Regions from separate parts of the Homo sapiens genome. Here region 2 is linked to region 1. The links are contacts of gene promoters, found by promoter capture Hi-C in human tissues and cell types (Jung and others, 2019). All regions are on one chromosome and are shown on one strand. The core of a region is centred on a gene start or on the middle of the fragment in contact, and the rest is flanking DNA. Distances in the headings are between cores, read along the strand shown. Region 1 holds the start of RAB42 (RAB42, member RAS oncogene family). Region 2 overlaps EPB41 (erythrocyte membrane protein band 4.1).

Region 1 (3,910 bases), core at 792-3,291:
ACCATGCCTGGCCATCAGAACTTTCTTTTCTGTAGAAAGCCTCGACTCCAAAATCCAGGAAGCATGACTGTGTCAGGATACTGTTTATATGAACCCTTCTGTCATTTGTCCTCCAGAGAGATATTAACACTCCCCATCCCACCAGGTGGGCTAAGGCTGGGACTGCTTTAACCCTTTCTCTCCTAGAGTCAACACTGGCATGGGCCTGAGTGCTGCTTCCTGCTGGGGGACCTGGGGATTTGGGTCTTGTGGATGAGCCGGACACCCCCCCAGCCCTCTTCTAGCTTGATGTCCCCCTGCTGCAGGGCCTGCTGGATAGCATCAGCGAGGGTGTCAAAGGCCAGGTCCACATTGCAGTTGTTTTTAACCGAGGTCTCCACGAAGGCCATGCCCAGGGAGGCAGCTAGCTCCTCGGCCTCCTGGGCTGAGACACAGCGGGTGCTCTGCAGGTCACTCTTGTGGCCAACCAGCAGGAAGATGACCTTGTCCGGGCCCTGAGTGGCCATGACCTCCTGGTGCCAGTCTTGGATGTGTTCAAAGGACTTCCTGTTTGTCACATCAAAGACCAGCAGGACACCCACCACATTCCGGTAAAAGGACCTGGTGATGCACCTGGGGAGGCAGGGAGGTGGAAAGGTAAGCTGGGAGAGGCTGATGCCTCCATGACACCCCCAGAGGCAGGACCTCCTCCCCCTGGGATCCACAGAATGCCTCACACCCCAACAGGGCTCACTTCACACGGCCCCGTGGTTCTCTGCCTCGGTGTCTGTGTCTCTCCTAACAGTCTGGGTGCTGGCCGGGTGCGGTGGCTCACGCCTGTAATCCCAGCACTTTGGGAGGCCGAGGCGGGTGGATGTGGATCACGAGATCAGGAGATCCAGACCATCCTGACTAACACGGTGAAACCCCGTGTCTCTACTGAAAATACAAAAAAATTAGCCGGGCGTGGTGGCGGGCGCCTGTAGTCCCAGCTACTTGGGAGGCTGAGGCAGGAGAATGGCGTGAACCCAGGAGGCGGAGCTTGCAGTGAGCCAAGATCGCACCACTGCACCCCAGCCTGGGCGACAGAGAGAGACTCCGTCTCAAAAAAAAAAAAGAAAAGAAAAAAGTCTGGGTGCTCCAGTTAGGGAGCAAGCGTGACTTGAATCCCTCATTCTTGGAGAAGGCCTGGTGCTGCCCTGACCTAGGTCTTCGTTCCTCTGTTCTCTTCCTGGCAAACTCCTGCTGATCCTCTCTCCCTTCCACATCTCCTCGACACTTCCCGCTCTGTTCCCCTGAGCTCTCAGCACCCGGGGCCAGTATCACTCAGCATCTCTCCAGAGTCCAGAGCTCAAAGCCAGGGATGTTCCTGGTCTCTGGGACTCGACCCACCCCGCAGTGTTCGTGGGAAAAATGACTCCGAGCAGGGGAGGTTCTGGCCCCAGTGGACCGGGCGGGACCCAGGGCAGGGACCTCGCCCTCCGCCTGACCTCTGAGTTGGCCTCTCGGGAGTTGCCGTGGCCTAAAGCACGCTCACCGAGCCCCCCACCAGAAGTCCCTCCCGCGCCCCGGCTACCCGCACCTGAAGCGCTCGTGGCCCGCGGTGTCCCAGAGTTGCAGCTTGACCCGCGGCCCGGCCCGCAGCTGCAGCGCGCGGCGGTAGCACTCGGCGCCCACCGTGGGCTCGGGCTCGGGCTCCGGCTCCGGGGCGCCAGGCGCGCCTGCCACGTAGCTCCGCAGCAGCGACGTCTTGCCCACCGCCGCGTCCCCCAGCAGCGCGACCCGAAATTGGTAGCGGCAGCCCTCGGCCTCCATGGCCGCGTCCGCCACCCCGCCGCCCCGCGGCGGTTTTGTCCGCGCCCCGACCCCGCCCCTGCCCGGGGCCCCGCCGGCGCCGCCCCCCGCTCCCCGCGCCCAGCCACCGTACCCGGCGGGGCACCGAGGGCGTCGGACCGAGTGGAAACTCCTGGCCAAGTTTCTCTCTCTCGAAGCCTCAATTCTCTCCTCTGTAAAAGGGGGCTAATGATGACCCCTACTTCACAGGATAAAGGGACTAAACTAGATGAAGTGAGGAGGGGCATGGGGAGGAGACTAACAGCGCTGAAGCATCCACCTCACTCATTTCTTAATCTCCAGCCCCACCCCCTTACCCGCTCCACACCGCTCCCCCGCCCCACCCCCCGCCTCCTCTGTGGGTTCCCTAGTTGGCGCCCAACCCTCTGCTGGACCCGGGAAGGCCACTCTGGAAGTGAGTGGTTAGTAGATGCTCCCTCTCCACCCAGAAGCCCTTTCCTGGAGCCCTCATTAGCCCCGGCCTGGGGCCTCTAGTTCAGTGTTCAGGTTCAACGTTCAACAGCCCCCACGGCTTCCTCTAATGCCTGTCTGAGTTGGACACCAGGGCCCCAGAAGGAACTTGGGCACAGTCTGGTTGAGGAGGCAGGACAGACACAGACAACTGCAGTTCTAAAGGGAGTGCAGTTGGCCTGTGGATTCGACAACTAACATGTATGAGGCCAACGGTCAGTTCATGTTTTGTGGACAGCAACCCTTTGACAGGGCCATGGGAGTGCCCCTCTTAGAGCTGAGGAGACTGAGGCTCAGAGGCACGGCTTGTCTCAGGTCACACAGCAGAGTTGGGACTCACATCCAGGTTTGTCTCATCCTTCATCACCCCTTCGATGCCACAAAAGGGGACAAAGCAGGTCCCACAAGCACTAAGACACTGGTTGAGTTTTGCTTGGGTGAGGGGCTAGGGTGAGGCAGCACATGAGCCTCCAAGGTTTACTCCACCCTTTCCAGGCTGGCCTTCTGGAAACCCAGGGCACTGAGGCTGGAGTTCCAGTTGCTCCAGCCAACTCTAGTCTCTCTAGTCTCGTTTTTATTTATTTACTTATTTTTGAGATGGAGTCTCACTCTGTCGCCCAGGCTAGAGTGCAGTGGCACAATCTCGGCTCACTGCAACCTCCACCTCCTGGGTCCAAGCCATCCTCCCAACTCAGCCTCCCAAGTAGCTGGGATTATAGGCACCTACCACCACGCCCAGCTAATTTTTGTATTTTTAGTAGAGACGGGGTTTCACCATGTTAGCCAAGGTGGTCTCAAACTCCTGACCTCAAGTGATCCGCCCGCCTCCATCTCCCAAAGTGCTGGGATGCTGGGATTACAGGTGTGAACCTGTACCACGTCTGGCCCACATGCACTTCTGACCATCTCTGATGTCAGTCTCTCTCCCAGGCTGCAGGCTCCTTGAGGGCAGGGGCTGATGATTGTATCCTCAGGGCCTAACTCAGCGCTTGGCATAAAGTAGAAACTCAAGGCGCAGTGGCTCACACCTGTGATCCCAGCACATTTGGAGGCTGAGGGTGGATCACTTCAGGTCAGGAGTTCGAGACCAGCTGGCCAACATGGTGAAACCCCGTTTTTACTAAAAATACAAAAATTAGTCGGGCATGGTGGCACGTGCTTATAATCCCAGCTACTTGGGAGGCTGAGGCAGGAGAATCGCTTGAACCCGGGAGGTGGAGGATGCAGTGAGCCAAGATTGCGCCACCGCACTCCAGCCTGGGTGACAGAACGAGACTCCGTCTCAAAAAAAAATAATAATAAACAAAGTAGAAGCTCAGTAAATATTTATAGCTAGATGAATTAATGAAAGTGGGTAAGTGCTGTTCATTCACCCATCCATTCATTCCGTCAAACACCATGATAGAGCTGGACTTGGGAAGCCAAAGGGTCAGAGAAGCCCATCCCAGCTGATGTTGAAGCTGAGTCTCCAAGGATAAGTGGGATCTGGGAAGGTCAAGGAGAAAGGAGAATCCAGAGAGGCATGAAGCAGCTGGAAATGCAGTCTGACCCCAGCCCTCCCTGAGGCCTTTCCAGTCAGCCCACGTGGGCAATGCACTGTCAGCATCTGGCTTCTTGAACTTCCTCC
Region 2 (3,910 bases), core at 409-2,908, 500 kb before region 1:
GAAATCCTTGGGGGATGAGAACTTGTTACTGTCTTACTTAGCTCTCTATCTTTCTTGTACAGTTTTTGGTATGTAATAGATGCTCAGTAAAAACGTGTTGAAGGTATGTTAGGTAAATCCAGGTCACTTGAGAACTTCTTCTTTGTCCTGTGCTATTCTGTAACTAAAATGTTTAGAAAAGCATGTTTAGGAAGAAATAAACAGTGGCTCATTTGACCAGACTCATAGTCTAGTCCAGCATTTTATCTCCTCCATCAGTAAAATAAGAGAAAACTAATATTTTTGTATGTTTACCATGTGCCAGGTGCTGTGCTAATCACTTGAGCATGTTTTTTCATTTAATTATTTACAGTATAATTATGAAGTAGTCATTATTTCTATTTTATAGATGAACAGATGAGCAGCTAGTGTTTAGACTCAGATCTATCTCTGGTTCTAAAGCCCATCTTCTTCCCATGACACCAGAAGGTATTTCAAGTAGGACCAAAGCACATGTCCTATTTATTTTACTTATGTATATATTTATTTTTTAGACATAGGCTCTCACTATGATGCTCAGGCAGGATTCAAATCCCTGGGCCCAAGGGATCTTCCCATCTGAGGCTCCCGATTAGCTAGGACTACAGGCACATGCCAGTGTGCCCAGCTTCAGGACATGTCCTATTATGCTCAAAATAACACACAGCAAACCCGACTTTAACTTTGAGACATACAAACAGCGCCCAAACTCCTCTTAACAGAGTCTGTTCTGAGTGGCTGACACTAGATTTTTACATATAAGAAGGCTGAGAAGCCAGAAGACAAGACTGGCCAGAAGAAAATATAAAGTCTCCATGACACAAGACACCCAGAATTTGGCATTTAATATCAGTAAAGAATTCTGACAGTGTTGTTGCCTTTGGCTGTGACCATCATCAAGGGCCATTGGATTATATAAGACTGCAACTGCACATACCAAATTAGCCTGAAAACTTTAAAGGGATCTTCTCAAGTAGAAGATGAATATATGGCTGTGTCTGAACCATCCTCAGTGACAAAAAGGCAAAGCTGAGACTTAATGTGATTCAAAGGTGTTAATCTAGATGTCGCTTACCTGAACTGATGGGGAATCTGTAAGAAAAAAGATGCTGGCCGGGTGCAGGGGCTCACACCTGTAATCCTAGCACTTTGGGAGGCCGAGGCGGGTGGGTCACCTGAGGTCAGGAGCTTAGGACCAGCCTAGCCAACATGGCGAAACCCCGTCTCTACTAAAAATACAAAAATTAGCCAGGCGTGGTAGCGCACGCCTGTAATCCCAGCTACTCAAGAGGCTGAGGAAGGAGAATCGCTTGAACCCAGGAGGTGGAGGTTGCAGTGAGCTGAAATCGTGCCACTGCACTCCAGCTTGTGCGACAGGAGGGAGGCTCCATCTCAAAAAAAAAAGAAAAAAAGAAAAAAAGAAAAAGGAAAAAAGATGCTATGATAGAAAGATTGGCTGCCTATATATATAAAGTACTGCAATGATATCTAGTTGGTTTTAATAATATGAAAAAAAGAATATTAGACAAATATTTAACTGAACAGAAACATTATTTGAAGATTCTCAATTTCATTTAAAAAGTCAATGGCTCCTGCTAAGTATGATAATTCAGTATTTTCTTTGTTTTGGGGAAGAAAACAAGATTTTTTTTCCTAAAGGCTTTCTCTCAAAAACTATTTATGCAAAGGGATTATGTCTCAGAATCATCAGACCCTGATTATATATATGCCTTTATGAGTTATAAATTACCCCTTTTTTGACCTATGAATTCCAGATATTATTAAAAGCAGGATATGGGCCGGGCGCAGTGGCTCACGCCTACAATCCCAGCACTTTGGGAGGCCAAGGCGGGTGATCATCGGAGGTTGGGAGTTCGAGACCAGCCTGACCAACATGGAGAAACCCCGTCTCTAATATAAATACAAAATTAGCCAGGTGTGGTGGCGCATGCCTGTAATCCCTGCTACTCGGGAGGCTGAGGCAGGAGAATTGCTTGAACCAAGGACGTGGAGGTTGCAGTGAGCTGAGATTGTGCCATTGCACTCCAGCCTGGGCAACAAGAGCAAAACTCCATCTCAAAAAAAAAGCAGGATATGGGTGTTTTATAGGTATTTTGCTGCCACTCCAACAAATGCAATCCAGAGTCTATTTCTTTTCAGGTTATTTTTGAAGTAAGGATTTACATATTTGAAGAGACTATCAAAAGAACCACAGTTGGCTGGGCACGGTGGCTCACACCTGTAATCCCAGCACTTTGGGAGGCCAAGGCGGGCGGATCACAAGGTCAGGAGATGGAGACCATCCTGGCTAACATGGTAAAACCCTGTCTCTACTAAAACTCCAAAAAATTAGCCGGGCATGGTGGCGGGCGCCTGTAGTTCCAGCTACTCAGGCTGAGGCAGGAGAATGGCGTGAACCCAGGAGGCGGAGCTTGCAGTGAGCCAAGATTGTGCCACTGCACCCCAGCCTGGGCGACAGAGCAAGACTCTGTCTCAAAAAAAAAAAAAAAAAAAAAAGAACCACAGTTAAGCTTACAAGAGTGTCTTATCCTTTAAGAGATCAAAGTGAAAATATATCCTGAAAATTTTTCTAAAATTTTGCTACATAAGAGCCATGTATGAGTACCTGTGTAGTAATTTTATCCCCACACATTTAGTCACTTGTTCCCCACTTAGTGAAGACCAATTTTACCTTTTAGTGGCAATAGAAAAACAACTCCTTTCTCTATTAAAAGGAAGAAAACACACTGCTATTGTCTCATTTTATCTTTCTATATAATTCAAAGACTAAATCCTCCTCTTGATCAGTTATGCTTCATTTCTTAGCCATTTAAAAATTATATTTTCCAATGTGTATAAATATACACATGAAAAGGATCTTAAGGTGGCCGGGCGCGGTGGCTCATGCCTGTAATCCCAGCACTTTGGGAGGCTGAGGCGGGTGGATCATGAGGTCAAGAGATCGAGACCATCCTGGCCAACATGGTGAAACCCCGTCTCTACTAAAAATACAAAAATTAGCTGGGTGTGGTGGCATGTGCCTGTAGTCCTAGCTACTCCGGAGGATGAGGCAGGAGAATCGCTTAAACCTGGGAGACGGAGGTTGCAGTGAGCCGAGATGGCACCACTGCACTCTAGCCTGGTGACACAGCAAGACTCTGTCTCAAAAAAAAAAAAAAAAAGGAAAGACAAAAGATTTTAAGGTGTACTAAAATATTAATAATCAAGGGATTGCAAACGATCTTTTTGTTTGTGGTTTTTCTCTATTTCCTAACCTTTCTAAAACAAGTATGTATTACTTTGGTAATAAAAAGTGATTATTTTCTTATGCAAGCACTTGTATCTGGTTTCAGTAGTGAAATGATCTTTAAAACCTGAAGAGTCTAGTAAACAATTTATGCAGAAAGTGCTAAAAAATCCTTAACATCTTCCAAGCCTTTTAAAAACAGTAAAAAATAAGCCTTAATAGGCTTCTAAAAGAAAAAAGTAGTTAGAGGAAAGAATTATAAGCTAGTAACTGGTATGTAATATAAAAGTTCTCTTTTATAAGGGGAATATAATATTAAACCTTGGTAATTTAGTTAGTTGGTTTTGAAAGTCAAAGTCAGCTGGGTGAGGTGGTTCACGCCTTTAATCCCAGCACTTTGGGAGGACGAGGCGGGCAGATTGCTTGAGTCCAGAAGTTCGAGACCAGCCTGGGCAATATGGCAAGACCCCATCTCTACCAAAAATACAAAAAATTAGCCAGGTGTGGTGGTGTATGCCTATATTCCCAGCCACTAAGGAGGCTGAGGTGGGAGGATCACTTGAGCCTGGCAGGTGGAGGTTGTAAACTTGGGGTAAAAAAGAAAAGAAAAGAAAGTCAAAGTCAATGATGATGAATTTAATATAT

The links. The method cuts DNA at HindIII sites, captures the fragments that hold promoters and counts their contacts. A contact is called where the count stands out against the background at its distance.
Region 2: a contact is called between a fragment that was not itself captured here and the fragment with the promoter of RAB42 in region 1, in 1 of the 25 tissues and cell types used here (aorta).

The regions. Positions count from the first base shown.
Region 1 is chr1:28,590,396-28,594,305 of GRCh38, reverse strand. RAB42 (RAB42, member RAS oncogene family) reads right to left here and starts at 2,041. Exons shown (of 2, transcript NM_001193532.3): 1 at 1,562-2,041; 2 at 1-612. The coding sequence starts at 1,794. The coding sequence ends at 189. RefSeq lists an enhancer at 313-1,049 and a silencer at 1,831-1,900. The HindIII fragment of the contact is 15,812 bases long and covers 1-3,910 here.
Region 2 is chr1:29,085,566-29,089,475 of GRCh38, reverse strand. The region is part of intron 16 of EPB41 (erythrocyte membrane protein band 4.1); the gene reads right to left. Among named protein-coding and RNA genes, the nearest start is that of TMEM200B, 36 kb to the left of the region's middle. The HindIII fragment of the contact is 7,588 bases long and covers 1-3,910 here.